Regions from separate parts of the Homo sapiens genome. Here regions 2, 3, 4, 5, 6 and 7 are each linked to region 1. Evidence: promoter capture Hi-C in 16 types of primary human blood cells and fetal thymus (Javierre and others, 2016). All regions are on one chromosome and are shown on one strand. Each heading gives the region's core, a stretch centred on a gene start or on the middle of the fragment in contact. The rest is flanking DNA. Distances are from core to core; before and after follow the strand shown.

Region 1 (2,778 bases), core at 138-2,637:
ATATCTCTGGTGCCGACCAGTAGTTCAAGCTCTAAGGCAGACTCTCCTAGAGAAGGTTACACTAATGATAGAGGCTGAAAGAGGAGGATTCAGGACTGCCAAGGAAGTGAAAAATGTCTATCATGAAAAGTAAGTCACAGGTGATTAAAATTCAGAAACAGTTCCCTGCTTGTTGAGGTTTCTGGTTTGAGAAATAACCTAGAGATTAATAGGGAAAAAAAAAAGGGTGAAATAGAAAGACCCTTTGAGGGCAAAGAGAGTCTACAGGCAGCATGGAAGAGTTTTCTCCTAATATGCACCAGGAAGAATTAAATTGAATTTGACCTTCAGAACCCACCAACACATCTGGTGATGAAACAGGCACTGAGAAATAGGATGGGGATCCCAGCAACAGTCCATAAGAACATTTGGGAAGAGAAGCATCCTCTCTCTGTAGAAAGAAAGACACAAACATGATCAATCTTCCCTAAGCAAGGTACAAAAGAGATAGAAGAGATTCTTATTCATCCTTACTTATTTCCTTCTACTTCCATTGTTTGTACTGAGTAATTCCCAAATTTCAGCATGCTTCAGAATCACTTGGAGGGTTTATGGAAACACAGATTGCTGACCCTTACCCCCAGAGTTAGCAACTCAGTAGAGTTTGTATGGAACCAACAAGTTCCCAGGGGCTACTGCTGCTGCTGGTCTGAGGACCACACGTTTAGCACCCCTGGAGTAAGACTCTGACTCATGAACTCAGATATACAATTTTTCCTTTCTAAGTCTCTCAGTTAAATTTTTTTCAGTATTTTCTAAGGCCCCCCTTCTTTCTTTTTCTTTCTTTTCCCTTTTCTCGTCTTTGCTTTTCTTGTCCTTCTCCTGATCTTTTTTTTTTTTCTGTGTCTCACTTTTCAAGCGCTTTGTAAATTAGGTAAAATGTTAACAGTCATCTAATAGTTCCTCTCTTCCTCCCATTAAACATTTTACAGACAAAGAGAGTTCCAGAGAAGTGAAGTGACTTGCCAAAAGGGACACAATGTATTGCAGAAAGGGTGGAAACTGATAGCTCTCCCTTAGCTAGAGGCCAGCAGGCTTTCTGGTATAAGAAATAGTCTTTAAATCTCTCTCTCTCTCTTCCTCTGTCCCCCCACTTTTTTTTTTAACTTCAGTGAATACTTTTCTATTGTCCTGTCTTTCACCATATTTATCACTTGTTCCAAAAAGAGATCTATGGAAGGAAAGGAAGAGTTGCAGATTTTACCTGTGCATTGTGTTTCAGATGATTTAGATGAATTCATTTTTTCTCTCTCTTTGGTTTTTTGTTTCTCTCTCTCTCTTTTTCTCTCCCTCCCTCTCTTTCTTTCTCCTCAGGAGTGTTTTGTTGGTAAGATTCAGGGAGAATGAATCTTGAAAGATAAACACTTTGTCTTTTAGGAAGTTCAGCTCCGATAGATGTAGAATATTAACTTGTTCTGTGGCTACGCATTAAGTCAGGATTTCCTTTCTTGCATAAGGAGGACAAGGAAGTTTATTGGACAGCATGTCAGTTCTCTTCACTCCATGTAACAACAAAATGAGGAAATTATGAAATGGTAAGCATCAACACAAATAGGCTAGCCATGGGGAAACAGGAGAGTTTTTTTTTTAAATGTTGTTTCGTTTCGTTGGACCAAATGTCTCTAGTTTCTTCAAGGCATAACTCATCCCCCAGTTTTTCCTTGACAATATGGAGCTCACCTCTGCACTCTGAATTTCACTTTGGATCTGTACCATCCACACATTTGGTAACTGAAAAGAAGACTTAGACAACATAGCACAAAGCTGGGCATATAGTGTATGTATTTAGGACATGGCAACCTGAATTTTTTCATCTTTTTTTTTTTTTTTTTTTTTGAGACAGAGTCTCGCTCTGTCGTCCAGGCTGGAGTGCAGTGGCATGATCTCCGCTCACTGCAAGCTCCGCCTCCCGGGTTCAAGCCATTCTCCTGCCTCAGCCTCCCGAGTAGCTGGGACTACAGGCGCTCGCCACCACGCCTGGCTAATTTTTTGTATTTTTAGCAGAGACGGGGTTTCACTGTGGTCGTCAGGATGGTTTCAATTTCCTGACCTCGTGATCCGCCCGCCTCAGCCTCCCAAAGTCCTGAGATTACAGGCGTGAGCCACCGCGCCCGTCCTCTTTTTCATCTTTTATGGTTTTTCTTTCTTCTTCATTTGCAGCTCTTGAATATTCTAATGTTGTGGATTTATGTCCCTCTTATCTTATGCTGACTACTAGGCTGCTACTACTAGGCTGACTACTAGAGTCCCCCTCAGCAGGACAGCCTCATGTGATTAGACCACTTTGAAACTCAGCTTAGTTTTTCACAACATAACGCAGCTTCTGAAGTCTCAGAGACCCAGCAGGCAGTTTAATTCTCCTGTTCTCAATTATTTGGGGATTTTAGTTCTATGTTACAGCCTACAGTAGGAGAAATGTATTTGAAGGTCAGAAAAAGCAATTTCAATTAGATATTAGAATTTAATGGTTCTCTGGGCCGGGAGCAGTGGCTCATGCCTGTAATTCCAACACTTTGGGAGGCCAAGGTGGGTGGATCATTTGAGGTCAGGAGTTTGAGACCAGCCTGGCCAACATGGTGAAACCCCACCTCTACTAAAAATACAAAAATTAGCCAAGTGTGGTGGCACGCATCTGTAATTCCAGATACTTGAGAGGCTGAGACAGGAGAATAGCTTGATCCTGGGAGGCAGAGGTTGCAGTGAGCCAAAATTGCACCACTGCACTCCAGCCTGGGCGAT
Region 2 (2,778 bases), core at 189-2,688, 490 kb after region 1:
TCTGTAAAACTAATGAAAGGCCACAGGTTAGGATTAGGAATTATGAGAGGGGCCTGAATTCTGCTAAAATGTAGGCAAAGTGAAACGATAACCAGCCATTGTTCTGGAGGTCACAAGATTTGTAACTTCCCCAATTACTCCTGTAGATGACATCAACTGTTATAGAACCCAAGATTGGCCTTTTGAGATTTTTTTCAGACTGTTAACGTTTCTCATGACCAGCTGACTCGGGCCAGACCTGCAACTCATGAGTCAATCAGTCCTGTAGCCCTACCCAGAGGCCAATTCAGTGCATGAAGACTATTTTCCACACTCCTATGATTTTACCCCAATCAATCAATATTCCCCATTCTCTAGCCCTCTGACCACCAACTATCCTTTAAAACCCCCAAAACTTTGAGCCTTCAGGGAGACTGATTTGAGTGATATTTCTGGTTCTACTACATGAGTTAGCCTCCTGTCAATCAAACTCTTTCTTTACTGCTATGCCGTAGTCTCAGTGAATTGATTTTGCCTGTGCAGAGGGCAGGAAGAAACTGCCGGTGATTACATGATTGCAGAGACAAATTCCTTGAAAGAATTTGTGAATCAAAAGATTGCTGGGGTCTGGGTGTAGTGGCTTACATTTGTAACCACAGCACTTTGGGAGGCCAAGGAGGGAAGATCGCTTGAGCTTAGGAGTTCAAGACTGGCCTGGGGAACGTAGAAAGTCATCATCTCTAACAAAAATAAAAAAATAAAAGAATTAGCTGGGCAAGGTGGTTTATATCTGTAGTCCCAGCTACTAGGGAGGCTGAGGTGAGAGGATCACTTGAGCCTGGGTGATAGAGGCTACAATGGGCTACAATCATACCACTGCACTCCAGCTAGGGTGACAGAATGAGACTCTTTAAAAAAAAAAAAGGGGATTACTGGGGTATTTCCCCTCCCACCCTGATTCCAAGTGAGAGGGGAAACAAGAGGGCACTTTGGGGAAATTGGGCACTGCTTGCTGAAGGCAGACAGAGTCTTACTCCTTGGCTCTATGCTTGCTCAGCTATGGGAGCTTGTAAATTTGAGACAGCATGGAGAATAAAAAAGTGTTTGGAAGAACCTGACCTATGTCCCTTACTGAAGAGGACAAAGACACTTTTGTGTGACTATTGTTTAGAGAGGCCCAGTGGTGAGAAGTTAGCAGAAGTTGCTCCTGATGACAGGGTAAGGTGGGGTGGCTTCAAGGCTCAGCTTCACTATTTGGTGAGTGGGTATATGAGCTCCCCTCATCCCAGAAGTAGCAGATGTGGGTTTGCGTCCTCTACAAAGGGCTTTATCCAAGAGGACTCCCTATCGGTGGGAGATCCTACAAGAAAGAAGCCATGTTGGATGCTTCACTAGAAGTTGAGAGCTAAGGTAAAGTCACAGGAGGCCTCCCAGAGAGCATCTCACCTGTATCAGGGAATGATGCAGTGCAGAAATTCCTCAGGGATGTATCTCTGTGTAGGATCTCCTAAAAATCCATTGAAGAACCCCATGAGAGACAATTGGTATTTGTGTATTGTATCAGTCAGGTTTCAACCACAGAAGCAGAACCAGTAGAAGAGATACATACAGTCATGCACAGCATAATGATGTTTCGGTTAACAATAGATCACACATATGCCGTAATTATATCCATAAGATTATAGCGAAGCTGAAAAATTCCTAGTGACATCCTATCTCTAGGGACATCATAGCTGTCATAACATCACAGCACAACACATTACTCATTACTCACGTGTTCGTGGTGATGCTGGTGTAAATGAACCTACTTCACTGCCAGTCATGTAAAAACCATAGCACATACGGTTATGTATGATACATAATACCTGATGATAATATGTGCCTCTGTTATTGATTTATGTACTTAATATACCATACTTTTTTTTTTTCTTTTGAGATGGAGTTTCACTCTTGTCACCCAGGCTGGAGTGCAATGGTGTGATCTCGGCTCGCTGCAACCTCCGCCTCCCCGGTTCCAGCGATTCTTCCGCCACAGCCTCCCGAGTAGCTGGGATTTACAGGCATGCGCCACCATGCCCGGCTAATTTTTTGTATTTTTAGTAGAGACGGGTTTCATCATGTTGGCCAGGCTGGTCTCAAACTCCTGACCACAGATGATCCGCCCGCCTCGGCCTCCCAAAGTGTTGGGATTACAGGCGTGAGGCACCGTGCCTGGCCATTATACTTTTTACTGTTATTTTAGAGTACATTCTTTATACTTATCCATTAAAAAATTTGTTAATTGTAAAACGGTCTTGGGCAGGCCCTTCAGGAGGTTTTCCAGAACAAGGCATTGTTATCACAGGAGAGGACAGCTTCATGCGTGTTACTGCCCCTGAAGAACTCCCAGTGGGACAAGATAAGGAAGTAGAACAGTGATATTGATGATCCTGACCCTGTGTAGGCCTTGGCTAATGTATGTTTTTGTGTCTTAGTTTTTAACAAAGCTATTTAAAAAGTAAAAAAAAAATTAAATAGAAAAAAACTTATATAATAAGGATATAAAGAAAGAAAATATTTTTGTATAGCTGTACAATACATTTGTGTGGTAAGCTGTGCGTTCATACAAAAAAGTGTAGTTTGGAGATTTCTCGAAGAACTTAAGACAGAACTACCTTGGAACCAACCCAAATGTCCATCGATGATAGACTGGATAAAGAAAATGTGGCACATATACACCATGGAATACTATACAGCCATAAAAAAGGATGAGTTCATGTCCTTTGCAGGGACATGGATGAAGCTGGAAACCATCATTCT
Region 3 (2,778 bases), core at 151-2,650, 430 kb after region 1:
ATTTAGTCCAACAAATGAATAATGTACATTCTTTTCCAGTGCACACAGACTTTTACCAAGATAGCACATATTCTGGCCATAAAACAAGTTTTAATACATTTACAAGGACTGAAATCATGCAAAGTATATTTGACCAAAACAGAATTAAACTAGACATCATTAATAAAACAATACCTGGAAAATCCCCAAATATTTGAAAATTAACAGTTTTTCTATAACCCATGGGTCAAAGAAGAAATAATGAATTAAATTACCAATATTTTGAATTGAACAAAAATGAAAACATTATCATCATCAAGGGATGCAGCTAAAGCAGTGCTTACAGGGAAATTCATAGCATTAAAATTTTAGCATTATGCTAAAATTTATAGCATTATTATTTTTTATTTCCACAGAGTGAAGTTTATCCTCAACAAAGCTCTCCTCTCCCATCTCCAGCCTTGGACAGGGTAGGACAGGTAGGGGCTAAGATGTGGCTCCAGTGGTTGAGGGGCCTCTGAGAAACAAGTAAGGGCCCTGGGCTTCCAGGCAAAACCGTGTCTGGCTCCTCCAGCCAGGCTGAGTCTGCTGTGCCTCCCTGCCCAGGCCTTGGGAAAGAGGAGGGTGCAGTGGCTCCTGGCTAGTTCCAAAGTGGAGTGTGAAAATGGTGAGTTGTTTACATGCAGTGGCCAGTACAGCGTGGTACTCACACCTCTTTCTGGAAGTTGCCATTGGGTGGCTCTGTGGGCTCCCAGGCTGTTGCTCAGTGCAGTCAGCCGTTCTTGGGAGTTCTGGGGGAAGAGCCCAGTGTCATGGATTTGAGGGCATTCCAGCTCTGAGGTTGCAGGCTTCTCCTTGGCAGTGGGCTGGCTACCGTAGCAGGTGAAAGTGTGGAACTTCTGGTTGAGCTCTTTTATTTTAGTTAAAAAAAAAAGTCTCAAATCAATGATCTAAGCTTTCACATTGAGGAATGAGAGGAAGAGGAGGAAATTACACTTAAAGTAAGCAAAAGGAAGAATCTAATAAAGAGGCACAAGACATCAATGGAATAGAAAATAGAAAAACAACAGAGAAAATGAAGCCAAAATCTAGTTTTTTAAAGTGATCAATAAAATTGATAAAATGTTGACAAAATGACTAGAGGAAAGGCACACATTTCCAATATCAGGAATCAGGGAGGTAAAATCACTATAGATTCTAAGCCATGAAAAGCATACTAAGGGCTGGGCATGGTGGGGCTCATGCCTGTAATCTCAACACTTTGGGAGGCCAAGACAGGTGGATTGCTTGAGCCCAGGAGTTTGAGACCAGACTGGGCAACATGGTGAAACCCCATCTCTACAAAAAATACCAAAGTTAGCCAGGTATGGTGGTGCATGCCTGTGGTCTCAGCTACTCTGGAGGCTGAGGTGGGAGGATTGCCTAAGCCTGGGAGGTTGAGGCTGCAGTGAGCTGTGATTGTGCCATTCTCCACCAGTCTGGGCTACAGAGGGAGACCTTGTCTCAAAAAACAAAACAAAACAAAGCAAAACAACCACGATAATAAGTGGTCAGTAAAATCTGGCCTGTGTGCCTAATCTGGCTTGCCATTTCTTTTGTGAGTAAAGTTTTATTGGAACACACACACAACTATTTACATTGTATCTATGGCTGCTTTTGTACTATAGTGGCAGAAGTGAGTAGTTGTGGGAGACCACATTGCCAGAAAAGCCTGAAATATTTACTGTGTGGCTTCTTACAGAAAACGTTTGCTGATCCCTGACTTAGATGAAAAGAACAAATAAATTGACAGACACTAACTACCAAAGTCACTCAAGGAAACAGATAGCCTGTATATTCCCCTATCCACTGAAAAAATTGAATTTATGGTTAAAGTTTTCCCACAATGAAAGCTTTGGGCCCAGATGGCTTCACTGGTAAATTCCACTTCTTCCTTTTCATCTTTTATTTATTTACTTTTCGGCTTCACTGGTAAATTCCACTTCTTCCTTTTCATCTTTTATTTATTTACTTTTCTCTAGGATTTCAGTACAGTGTTTCATAGAGTTGCTGAAATAAGACATCCTTGCCTTGTTCTTAATCTTACTGAGATAACATTCAATATTTCACCTTAAGTGTGTTAGGTTAGTTGTAGGTTTTATGTAGAAGCCATTATCAAATTGAGAAAGTTTCCTTCTGTTCTTTTGCAGACCTTATTTATTCTGAATGGGTGTTGAATTTTTTTTCATGCTTCTTTCTGCTTCAGTTCACGTGATCTATATCTTTTTTCTTTTTCATTATGTTAATATGGCAAAGTACATTGATTGCTTTTAGAATGTTAAACCAACATTGTACATTTCTGGGATAAACTGTACTTTGTCATGATGATTTATTTTATATTTTTATAGATATTTTGTTAAAGATTTTCATGTCTATAATCTTGAAGGCGGAGCGTCTGTAATTTTCTTTTCTTGCAATTTTTTGTCAGGTTTGGTATCAGAGTCATAATGGCCTCCTAAACCAAATTGGGAGAGTGTACTTACATTTTCTACTTTTTGAAGGAGCATTGTTATTTATTTCTTAAAGTTTAATATAGTATGCTATTGAAGTCACCTGAGCACGAAGTTTTCTTTGTGGGTAAGTGTGTATTAACCAATTCTTTTTTTTTTAGTGGTAAAGAGCTATTCAAAAATTTATTTCTTTTTGTGTCAGTTTGTTAAATTCTGTTTTTTTTCCATAAATAATTTGTCTACTTAATCTAACTTGTTAAATTTATTGACATAAAGATATAACATTACCTTATTATACTTTTAATGTCTT
Region 4 (2,778 bases), core at 204-2,703, 410 kb after region 1:
AGTTAGGATAATAAATTTATACTGTATTCTTCTTTCCTGCTTAAGGCTTGTCTTTAAATTTAAGCTGCTTCTCTTTAATTCAGTGGCATATGCGCTAAATGTTTTCCCTAGATTATGTTCATTCATCTTCACAACCCAGAAAATAGGTATAATTTTTCATACTTCACAGATGAGAAAACTGATGCTTTACAGAATTACTTGTTAAATTACTTGCTGTACATTACACAGATATTAAATGTGTGTGAAGTTACTGGGGCAATTTAGACGATTCGTGGCATAAAGATAACTGCTGGAAAACTTATAAACATAGGGGTGCAACAATCAGGAAGAGAATGAAATGGAAGGGCCCAGTAGCCCCCTTTTAATATGCTACAATTAGATTCTCAAGGTACAAGAGTTTGTCTATATACTTTGGAAATAAGGAGCAGGATTTTATGATCTTGAAAAATCTTTCAGTTTTCTTATTCTCTAACGACAGATCTATTTTATTTGGCAATGCTAAAAATTATCCTTTATTAGGGTGGCCAATGACTAAGCCAGCAACTGGGAAGCAGCTTACACCACTGGGCCTCTGTAGCACTCACTTCCCCATCTGTTAAGACAGCCATGGCCATTTACCAGTGGAATTTCTACTGTCTTCCCGCTGGCTCCTTTCTGATGTAGCAGTCCTTATCCCTTTTTCTCCAGCAGCCTACATGTTTAGAAAAGCAGCCTCAATTGGCTAAAAGGCCTAATGCTGAAAGAACTCAAGAGAGAAGGAGCCTCAGACAAGTAGCGGCTATGTCCCAAGAGCGGAAGCTCCCCACAACGAGGAACACAAGATAATCCGTCCATCAGCCATTCTTATCCACACCACAGTCGCATCCCCCTCAAAGCTCTCCCAGGGTGCCAGAAATTCTCGCTCTGTCTAGTGTCCCGACTTTCCAAGCGCTTGTAGCCATACCCTCTCCAAATGATGCCACTTGACCTCCCACCGTGATGCAGGCCAAAATTCCTCCTACAAATAAATCCACCAACACCTCCAACGGACTCCATACTTGGGGTATTTTCCTTTCCCTGCTTTCTAAATATCGTAAATCCCCTCTCTGGTCTTGGAAGTCCTTTCTCCCTCACACCTTTCGGAACTCCGTGACTCTCCGCTCTCATGCCTCCGCCTCCATTCTACCCTTAGGGCTCCTCAGCCAGATCTTTGGCTAGAACCATGGTCAAGGGAGAATGCGATTCCGGCTCCTGTCACAGACGCTTAAGTGTGAGCGCAACCCAGCCCGCCTCCTCCTCCACGCCCCTCACACTCACGTGTCGTGGGAAACTGGAGTAGCCAAAGCTCAGAATCCCCAGTGAATACCCTTCTGGGGATGGGAGACGGGGCCAGCTAGGGGCCGGCCGCAGACCCCGGTCCCAGAGCTAGTTTCAGAGGCCAGCGTTCCCCCTAGCGCCTCGCTGTGCCCCACTCTGGGAACCGGAAACAGGAAGCGCCAAGAGGCCGCTGGGCAACCGCTCCTCCCACCAGACCCCGCGGCATGTGACCATAGAACCATTTCGCCCCTTTCCCCTTCCCGGGCTCCCTGATAATCTTAAACTCTGATTGGCCAGTATTCTGGGACTTTAGCTCCGCCCTCGTTCCATCAGCTCCAATCACTATCGAGGTTGTCGTTTCGCCTTTTCTGGTTGCCTTTCTTTCAATGGGGTCCCAGAGTCCCGCTTCCAGGGCCTCTCGGCTCGCGCACCCCGGTCACGCGGGGTCACGCGCCTGACCGCTCCCGGGTAGGGTTCGAGTGAAGAGGGTGAGAGGGGCAGGTGGCGGAAGCGGAAGTTACGCAGGCAGCTCGCCCTCGGGCTCCGCGGGAGTTGTAGTTCTCACGCTAGGTCTCCTCCGGGCGCTTCCCTAGCCCGTTCGCCGCCTGAGAGGGACGCTGTTCCGCCGCGTGGAAGCTTCGAGTCTCGACTCCACTGTTGACCCCTAGACGAGAGTAGTGCAGCGACGGGGCCGTGATGTGCGTCCTGGCTTTCTTAACGACACCTCTCCTCTGTATTTCCTTTTTCCAGTTGAGTACCTTGGGGTGAATTATTATTGTTACTGTTATCTCTGTCGTTCCTTACTGCTTCGTGGTATTTTGCTTGATAAGCATGCTCTGCAACCACCTCTGTTCGCCAGAGGTTACTTCTGCAAAGTAGGAAGAAACGAGCAATACGATGGTAATCTTTGCGCCTTTGCTAAGATCTTTTGTAGGTTCCTTATGTCTTACTAGCCACTTGTTGAAGTCCTGCTCATTCTTAAACTCTGTTCAGATGTTATTTTTCCTGTAACTTCGTGCATTCACTCTCTTCAGAATTAACAATTTCTTCCTGTGGACCCTCGCTTGTGGCTTGTACCTGGCTTTAGCATGTTTTCATTCCGCTTCCACTCTTACGTTGCTTCTATGTGTGCCTCTCTGGCTCTATGCAGGTGCCTGGATTTTTGATTCTTACCCCTCTCATTAGAACTACTACAGTGTTTTGAGTCTAATAATAATAAAAGCTAACGGATGCATATCTCGGTGGTGCCCGGCACTTTTGTAAGTGCTTTAAACGATAGTTAATTCACTTGGTCTTCACACCAACCTTATGAGGAAGTATCTTATCCCAAGTTTACAGATGAGTAAATTAAAGCAGATAGAAGCTAAGTAACACCGTGGGTCCCAAGCTATTAAGTTATGGAGCCAGTATTTAAATAGTCTCCATAATCCATGCTCTCAAGCACTACGCTTTACCGACTGTATGCCATTCTGCATTTCTTTG
Region 5 (2,778 bases), core at 109-2,608, 370 kb after region 1:
ATAAGAAAAAAAGAAAGAAGTCTGACATGCGTCTCACTGGGTGAAAATCAAGGTGTCAGCAGGGCTGTCTGTGTTCTTTTCTGGAAGCTCTGGGGAGGATCCATTTCCTTGCTTTTTCTGGCTTCTGAAGGCTTCCCACCTTACGTGGCTTGTGGCCCCCTTCCAGTGTCAAAGACAGAAATGACAGGTTAAATACTTCTCATGTCACATCACTGAACCTGTCTTTCCTGCCTCCCTCGTCCACTTTTAAGGACGCTTGTGATTACACTGGGTTGCCAAGGTAATCCATGATAATCTCCCTATTTTAAGGTCAACTGATTAACAACCTTAATTCCAATTGCAACTTTAATTTCTTTTTGCCATGGAGCATAACGTATTCACAGATTTCACAGATGGGGACATCCTTGGTGGGGGGGCATTGTTCTGCTTACCACAGTTTATCAGTAGACAAGAGAGAAAACAGCCAATTTAGGGAAATAATATATATATCTCTATTTTCTGCTGAGACATCTCCACAGTGTCTTTACAGACTGATAACTAGAGCTATTTCTCTAGTTAACAAAGGCAGAGTGGCCTTCCATTGCAGGTATTTACCATGGCAAATGCCAAGCTTCTTTGTGCAAATGTTTATGTGTGTGCTAAGCATTTTAAATAGATCTTTTGCATCACTCTATTTTCACACTGTGAAGGATATAATGTAGTTATGAGCTTTGAAGATGGACAGACCTGAATTTAAATTCTGACTCCATTACTTATTACACCTATGAACCTTGAGCAATTTACCTAATCTTCCAGAGCTTTAATTTCCTCATCTATAAATTAAGGATTAAAAACAGCTAGCAGAAAAGGTTATTGAGTTGAATGCAATAATGCATGTGAGGCCATGAGCAGAGGCTCTAAGTATATTTTGAATTGTTTTTCCCTTTAGATGTTTTCCCAGGTACCTGGTTCTCTGGGCCTAGGACACATAATCCCAGAGGGTATAAATCTAGTGCTTGGTCCCAACATGGTTTTGCTCCCTAAATACTGAAATAGTAGACAAGACGACACACCTGAAGCCCGAAAGAGGTAAATTTAGTATACAAGGAAGGGAATACTCTTTGTTATATAAAATAATAGTAAGTTCACTAAACTAATTAATGCATAAACTCAACTAAATTGTGAGTTAATAAGGTTGTGATGTAAACTGAATAAAACATAAAGAATGGTTTAGTTCTATTTGGTGATCACAAAAATATATTAGTTACTAAGGAAAATTAATAATAGCCTGTGCTATGTGTCAGGTCCCAATGTGAAGTGCTTTACAAACATCTCACTTATTTCCACCAACTACCAGGTGTTACCCCTGTTTTACTGAAAGCAAACCAAAGTTAAGGAAAGGTGCATAACTTGCCATCATTATAACTGTCAATACTGATGAAGAGTATGTTATCGTCAGTCTTATGCTCCTTAAGGATGTAGGGGTACTTCTATATCTTTTGCGGGCAATGATGGATGGAATATTGGGCTGAACCAATTAGTATGTTAATTTTAAACTTCTGCTTGAAGAAAGGATCTATGGTAGGTATTAGTAGCGAGAGATGAGAGGTATCCTTTATATCTTTTAATTTCATATTCTTTTCCTATGAGAGAAGGGCAAGAATCTAGGAAATTAATTCAGTTAACTAATATTTATTGGACATTTTCTATTTTCCAGGGATTACGAAATATCCCTCTTCTACATTTATCATTTAGACTTCAATTGTCTTCACTGAAAACTGAGGGGCTTAGTTTTAAAGTTCTTTTTTTTTCCTTTAAATATCTAAGAGCCTATAAATCCACTCAATCTTCATTTTCTCCCAACTAGACCTTAAAGTGGCATGCAGAATTATAGTGAGACACAGGTGGGCTGTGTATGGTGGTTCACAGCCACAGTTGGTGGTGGGGAGAGTAAAGGTTATGATTTCCTTTTTTCTCTACTTCTTCCTATCCATATTTGCATAAAAACATGGTCACACATTCTTACTTGATTACTTGTAGAAAGACACATTCCAAAGATACTAACACCTTTAGGGTAAAGGACATCTCTTCCTTCACAATTTATTGCAGAATGCTAGGTTTACAGGAGAAGCTTGAGGAATGCTTAAGCAATGTTCAGTTGATATGAAAAGTTCTATTAGCTTAACTTCTAGTCTATTTGCTTCAGTTGCTGCCAAACATCGACAGCCTTTCAAACCAGGATCCTTCCTTATTTAGAGAAGTTTGCAGGAGGGCTTCCATTTCCATACACCGGATTAAATGCTTTTCCTTCTCACCTGTTTAGGCTAATGGCCTTCAGTGTTATGCAGAGTAAAGACATTCTGTAGCCTCCATTCAGAAGAACCATTTTGTTTGAAAAAGAAAAGTCTAATTCAAGCAGAGTCATTAAATGAAAATGAGAAACTTTAGAAAAATTAAGAAAAAAAAGTTGAGTATTCTCTAGGGAACACAGATTGTTTTGCTGTTTAGACCGAGATAAGTTCTTCAATGCCTGCTCTCAAGCTGATTTAGTCTATGAAAATGATTTTCTTATGGATGGAGGCTTTCCTATAACTTTACTTTGCTGTTGATATATTTCTTTTTTATACTAAATCTTTTTTGGTGGGAACTGTTTAGACCTATGACCTTAGAACACTGGCCTGACTTGGAGAAAAATGAACTTGAAAAGAATCCTGTGATATATGGAGCACACACCTTTACATATAAAAATTAAACTACTGGCCCATAATCAGTATAGCTCGCCTCATGATAGATTATTCT
Region 6 (2,778 bases), core at 164-2,663, 350 kb after region 1:
TTATTTTCGAATAGACAATACACGCCCACGTAAAAATTCAAAGGTCCTAAGAGACACCTTCCACATTTCTTCTCTCAGTTCCCTCCTCGGATGTAACCTATACTATTACTTTTGCCAAATGTCAGCGCCCTGAAATACACCACCCGAAATCTCACAGATAGGCAAAGCTGGAGTTTATTCATGTCTTAGCAAGGGAGCACACCGCCTTGCGGAAACTTGAGCAGCATCTGGGAGGGGAGGGCAAAGGGAGGATATTTATGAGGTTCTAGGTTGGATTAAGGTGGGTCTTTCAGTGAAGGGCTCTGATTAAGTTTGGGTACGGATCATGATTTAGCAAGGTGAGGGCTTAAAAAAGTTTTGGAGCATGAATAATCATTTGATAACTGTACTGGAAAGCTAAGCAATTTAAAATACGTTGTCTGGATATTCCTGAAATGAACAATAACATTATTTAAAAGTTTTATTTTAAAAAGTTTTTTCAGTTAAAAAAAATTAAAGGCATAAGTATGATACAAAGGACTTTGGGGACTTGGGCGGAAAGGGTGGGAAGGGAGAGAGGAATAAAAAACTACAAATTGGGTTCAGTGTATACTGCTCGGGTGATGGGTGCACCAAAATCTCACAAATCACCACTAAAGAACTTACTCATGTAACCAAATACCACCTGTGCCCCAATAACCTATGGAAATAAAAAGTTTTTAAAAATTTCATTTTGTGAGTGCAGAGTAGGTATATGGGATACATGAGATGTTTTGATACAGGCGTGTGATGTGTAATAATCACATCCGGGTAAATGGGATATCTATGACCTCAAGCATTTATCCTTTGTGTTACAAACAATACAATTAGGCCAGGTACAGTGGCTCACGCCTGTAATCCCAGGACTTTTGGGAGGCTGAAGTGGGTAGATCACTTGAGGTCAGGAGTTGGAGACCAGCCTGGCCAACATGGCAAAACCCCATCTCTGCTGAACATACAAAAAGTAGGCGGGCGTGGTGGCGGGCGCCTGTAATTCCAGCTACTCAGGAGGCTGAGGCAGGAGAATTGCTTGAACCTGGGAGGCAGAGGTTGCAGTGAGCCAAGACTGAGCCACTGCACTCCAGCCTGGGTGACAGAGTGAGACTCTGTTTCAAGAAAAAATAATAATACAATTGTACTTTTAGTTATTTTAAAATGCACACTAAATTATTATTGATTAGAGTCACTCTGTTGTGCTATCAAATACTACATTTTATTCATTCTATTTTTTTGTACCCATTACCCATTCCCATTACAGCTTTTATTTTTGGGGCAAGGGCTTCCTGAAATACTAAAGTCTTGTTGGTAAAGACAGTAGAATAGCAAAGTCAAGCTAATGTAGGCAGTAAAGTGTGTGGGTGGGGCTTGGCTAATTCTCAGTTTCTGGTATATCTTTTCAGAGATATTCTGTGCTTATTCAACTATACATGTATAAATTTCTTTTATTATTATTTTTATCTTTTTATTTTTTTTTGAGACAGAGTCTTGCTCTGTCACCCAGGCTGGAGTGCAGTGGCACGATCTCGGCTCAGTGCAACCTCCGCCTCCCAGGTTCAAGTGATTCTTCTATCTCAGCCTCCCAAGTAGTTGGGATTATAGGCTCCCACCACCAAGCCCAGACAACTTTTTTGTATTTTTAGTAGAGACAGGGTTTCACCATGTTGGCCAGGCTGGTCTCACACTCCTGACCTCAAGTGATCCTCCCCTCTCGGCCTCCCAAAGTGCTGGGATTACAGGTGTGAGCCACCGTGCCCAGCCTATACATGTATAAATTTAAGAAATGTGATATTTTCCCCTTTACCAGTTGTTGCAGAAATCCAGAAACTGAGTATGAGATATTCCTTAAATAATGGCGATCCAACAGCGTTTGCTCTGTGGTGATATGTGATGTACTTTCCCAAAGTACGTATATTTACGTATTTTGTGTTGAATGGAATTACCGTTTGAGGTATTCTAGTGTTTTCCCTCTCAGCAATTTATCTAACAGATTATGGTTTTGGCAAAATCTGTGGGGCACATTTTCTTATTCCTGGTTTCCTCTTTTCCATCACAAAGCAGAGTACAGGGCTGAGTGGCAGGGGACAGAAATAATTATTCCATAAGCACTGAAATCTGAAGGCCAGCAGAGGGGCCTTCATTAAGTGCGAATCTGTTGGGCACCCACTGAGTAGTGAACAGGATGAATGTGACAACCACACTCCCTGCCCTTCCCAGGCTTGCAGCTTAGTGAGGGAGAGCAACACTGCCTGCCCTTCATTAGGGGGATGAATGTGACAAAGCACAGTCAGGTTGTGGGAACCTAACCTAATCTTTGGGCTGAATTAAGAATTCCCAGAAGTGACACTCAAGTTGCAAGATGAAGAATAAGCAGGAATGAGACAGGTGAGGGGTGCGGTGTGGGAGGATTGTTCTTGTAAGGGGAGATAGCCTATGCCTTCTCTGGAACCGAGATTACTTTTCTCCGTGTTTCTGGTTTCTGTGTTCCGCCATTTGTTCTGTACATCTTGTGGTCTGCTTTCCAGATTTTTTTTTTTTTTTTTTTTTTTGAGACGGAGTCTCACTCTGTCCCCCAGTCTGGGGTGCAGGGGCGCAATATCGGCTCACTGCAAGCTCCGCCTCCTGGGTTCACGCCATTCTCCTGCCTCAGCCTCCCAAGTAGCTGGGACTACAGTCACCCGCCACCACGCCCGGCTAATTTTTTGTATTTTTAGTAGAGATGGGGTTTCACCGTGGTCTCGATCTCCTGACCTCATGATCCGC
Region 7 (2,778 bases), core at 209-2,708, 330 kb after region 1:
TGCTTTAATATCTGGCTTAATCAAAGAGAATGAAATTTTCCTATTTACTCCTACATTCAAACCGTTGCAATATTACACATAAAGTAGCCTCTGATAACTCTCCTGTATACTTGTTTTGTTTTTTATTTTTTTAAATCACTTTCCCCAGAAGGAAACAATCTCCTGTATATTTGTAAGAGAATGAGAGTGGAAAAAAAAAGTCTTAATATCATTCTAAAAATAATTCTGACCTCTCAGATATTCTGATGCAATCTCGGGGATCCCTGGAGTAGGGGAGGTCCCTCGACCACACTTTGAGAAGCACTATACCTGAAGAACTTTGGAAATCCCTTCCAATTAGGCGTTAATAGCGCTATATCTAAATTTATAATACGATTTTTTTTTTTTTTTGAGACAGGGTCTCACTCTGTTGCCCAGGCTGGACTTCAGTGGCCCGATCTTGGCTCACTATAATCTCCACCTCCTGGGTTCAAATGATCCTTCCACCTCAGCTTCCCAAGTAGCTAGGATTTATTTTTTTATATTAAAGTAACTTATACAATTGCCTTAGATTCTCCATTTGCTAATTTATTCAACAAATATTTACTGAACAACCAACATATGCCAGTCACTTTTCTAAGTGATGGAGACGTAGCAATGAAAACAATAGATATGATACCTGGCCTAAGAGTGCTGATATTCTAGTGGAGAGACAACAATATTCAGGTTTTTAAAAATTACATGTATATGTGTATACACACACATTTTTTTTCAGTAGTAATAAGTGCTATGCAGCATAAGGGGATAAAGAGTGCTGGTGGGGCAGGCCAGGGATGTGACTCTTTTTAAATAAGGTGTTCAAGGAAAGCCTCTTTGAGGAGGTATCATTTGCTCAGGGACCAGATTGAAGAAAGCAAACCAGTAAGGGGCATAGAACTGTTGGAGTAAAATGCAAGCCTCTGTTTCTCTGGCCACTTTGACTAATTTAGTGGAGAAGCCATGGGTCAGGGTGGACCATGAACAAAGGGAACCAGTTCACAAGAGGGCCAGAGAGCTGTAAGATCCTAAGAAGAAAGAGCCAGGAAGTCAGCAGGAGGCAATGTCTTTAAGACTCATAGGGCAGTAGCGGTACATAGAGGGTTTCAGAGAATCTTTTTTTAATTAAAAAAAAAATTTTTTTTTAATTTGAGATGGAGTCTCGCTCTGTCGCCCAGGCTGGAGTGCAGTGGCGCCATCTCGGCTCACTGCAACATCTGCCTCCCAGGTTCAAGCGATTCTTCTGCCTCAGCCTCCTGAGTAGCTGGGATTACAGGTGCCAGCCACCATGCCCGACTAATTTTTGTATTTTTAGTAGAGATGGGGTTTCACCATGTTGGCCAGGCTGGTCTGGAACTCCTGACCTCTGGTGATTCACCCACTTCGGCCTCCCAAAGTGCTGGGATTAGAGGCATGAGCCACCGTGCCTGGCGGGGCTTCAGAAAATCTACATGAAGACAGCAAGGGTCTTTTATTCCACATTGCATACAGTGTAATTTTCATTTTACTTCTAAGGTACTGTTTCATCTGTCTTCCCCACAGCTCATTAAGAACACTCAGACTTACACCTTCACCATCAGCCAAAGTGTGCTGGTCACCAACTTGAAACCAGCAACCATCAAGGTCTATGACTACTACCTACCAGGTGAGAGGGCTGAGCTGAAATGAGATCTGAGATCTTACCTGCATCTCCCAACTTACTTCTGCCTCATTCTTCATGGCTTCTCTCTTAATTTTACAAATACTCCTTCCCAAGCCAAGTAGCACATAATTAAATTATCTAATCTCCTAAAATATTTTAATTCAGTTGTGTGCCATTTTTAAGTTGCGTACACTAGAGACATTTTATGTGATCGGAGAACAATGTGAACCATTGTTCTCAAAGGGCTATTTCTATTATTTTTGGTATGATTAATAGTTTGTCACAATGTACAAATATTAGTGATTGAAACTTTCTTGTAATTCTGAATATGCTCATAACCTGTAGAGATTCTCTGGAAGGGGCTCAAGCAGTAGCTTTTCTGAAGCATTTTCCCTCTGAATATAGGAGGCCCTCAAAGTAATAATATGACTTATTTCATTTCACAGATGAACAGGCAACAATTCAGTATTCTGATCCCTGTGAATGAGGTAAGTCCAGCGGAGAAATGGGTGGAGTTATGGGTTAGGGTGGCAGAAGTTAAGAGGAGCCTCTTTTCGAGTTACTGTCATTGTCTTTTTTTGAGATAGAGTCTCGCGGTGTTGCCCAGGCTGGAGGGCAGTGGCGGAGGTTGAGTGGCTCACTTCCCAGCTTCAAGCGATTCTCCTGCCTCAGCCTCCTGAGTTGCTGGGATTATAGGCGCCCACCATGATGCCTGGCTAATTTTTGTATTTTTAGTAGAGACAGAGTTTCACCATGTTGACCAGGCTGGTCTCGAACTCCTGACTTCAGGTGATCTGCCCACCTCGGCCTCCCAAAGTGCTGAGATTACAAGCATGAGCCACCACACTCAGCCCTGTTATTGTCTTTTGGAAGCTATTGTTGATAGAAAGTGAGCTTTCCTTTTTTGTCTTAAACTTTTTTTTTTTTTTTAAACAGGATCTGGCTCTGTTGCCCAGGCTGCAGTGCAGTGGCGTGATCTCAGCTCACTGCAGCCTCTGCCTCCCAAGTTCAAGCGATTCTTGTGCCTCAGCCTCCTGAGTAGCTGGGATGACAGGCACGTGCCATCACGCCCAGCTAATTTTTTTTGTATTTTTAATAGAGATGGGGTTTCGCCATGTTGG

What was found. The method cuts DNA at HindIII sites, captures the fragments that hold promoters and counts their contacts. A CHiCAGO score of 5 or more calls a contact.
Region 2: a contact is called between a fragment that was not itself captured here and the fragment with the promoter of CLEC4E in region 1, in 3 of 17 cell types (total B cells, naive B cells and endothelial precursors). The highest score is 7.8, in total B cells.
Region 3: a contact is called between a fragment that was not itself captured here and the fragment with the promoter of CLEC4E in region 1, in 1 of 17 cell types (endothelial precursors). The highest score is 5.1, in endothelial precursors.
Region 4: the fragment with the promoter of M6PR here is called in contact with the fragment with the promoter of CLEC4E in region 1 in 5 of 17 cell types (monocytes, neutrophils, M1 macrophages and 2 more); the score reaches 9.6 in monocytes.
Region 5: a fragment that was not itself captured here is called in contact with the fragment with the promoter of CLEC4E in region 1 in 6 of 17 cell types (neutrophils, M1 macrophages, total CD8 T cells and 3 more); the score reaches 7.3 in neutrophils.
Region 6: a contact is called between a fragment that was not itself captured here and the fragment with the promoter of CLEC4E in region 1, in 7 of 17 cell types (total CD8 T cells, neutrophils, naive CD8 T cells and 4 more). The highest score is 11.8, in total CD8 T cells.
Region 7: a contact is called between a fragment that was not itself captured here and the fragment with the promoter of CLEC4E in region 1, in 2 of 17 cell types (naive CD8 T cells and non-activated CD4 T cells). The highest score is 6.7, in naive CD8 T cells.

What each region holds. Positions count from the first base shown.
Region 1 is chr12:8,539,518-8,542,295 of GRCh38, forward strand. CLEC4E (C-type lectin domain family 4 member E) reads right to left here and starts at 1,388. Exons shown (of 6, transcript NM_014358.4): 1 at 1,244-1,388; 2 at 338-430. The coding sequence starts at 1,280. The HindIII fragment of the contact is 5,761 bases long and covers 1-2,778 here.
Region 2 is chr12:9,032,551-9,035,328 of GRCh38, forward strand. It overlaps a transcript of KLRG1 not described here. Among named protein-coding and RNA genes, the nearest start is that of LINC00612, 31 kb to the right of the region's middle. The HindIII fragment of the contact is 5,098 bases long and covers 1-2,778 here.
Region 3 is chr12:8,968,632-8,971,409 of GRCh38, forward strand. It overlaps a transcript of KLRG1 not described here. Among named protein-coding and RNA genes, the nearest start is that of KLRG1, 20 kb to the right of the region's middle. The HindIII fragment of the contact is 937 bases long and covers 933-1,869 here.
Region 4 is chr12:8,948,192-8,950,969 of GRCh38, forward strand. M6PR (mannose-6-phosphate receptor, cation dependent) reads right to left here and starts at 1,454. Exons shown (of 7, transcript NM_002355.4): 1 at 1,297-1,454. It also overlaps a transcript of KLRG1 not described here. RefSeq lists enhancers at 718-1,623, 1,624-2,528, 2,027-2,156 and a silencer at 1,834-2,048. The HindIII fragment of the contact is 9,162 bases long and covers 1-1,930 here.
Region 5 is chr12:8,909,757-8,912,534 of GRCh38, forward strand. No RefSeq gene overlaps it. Among named protein-coding and RNA genes, the nearest start is that of PHC1, 3.4 kb to the right of the region's middle. RefSeq lists an enhancer at 1,886-2,438. The HindIII fragment of the contact is 1,500 bases long and covers 609-2,108 here.
Region 6 is chr12:8,890,812-8,893,589 of GRCh38, forward strand. No RefSeq gene overlaps it. Among named protein-coding and RNA genes, the nearest start is that of PHC1, 22 kb to the right of the region's middle. The HindIII fragment of the contact is 4,563 bases long and covers 1-2,778 here.
Region 7 is chr12:8,872,868-8,875,645 of GRCh38, forward strand. A2ML1 (alpha-2-macroglobulin like 1) reads left to right here. Exons shown (of 36, transcript NM_144670.6): 34 at 1,558-1,660; 35 at 2,104-2,145. The coding sequence ends at 2,144. Among named protein-coding and RNA genes, the nearest start is that of PHC1, 40 kb to the right of the region's middle. The HindIII fragment of the contact is 9,645 bases long and covers 1-2,778 here.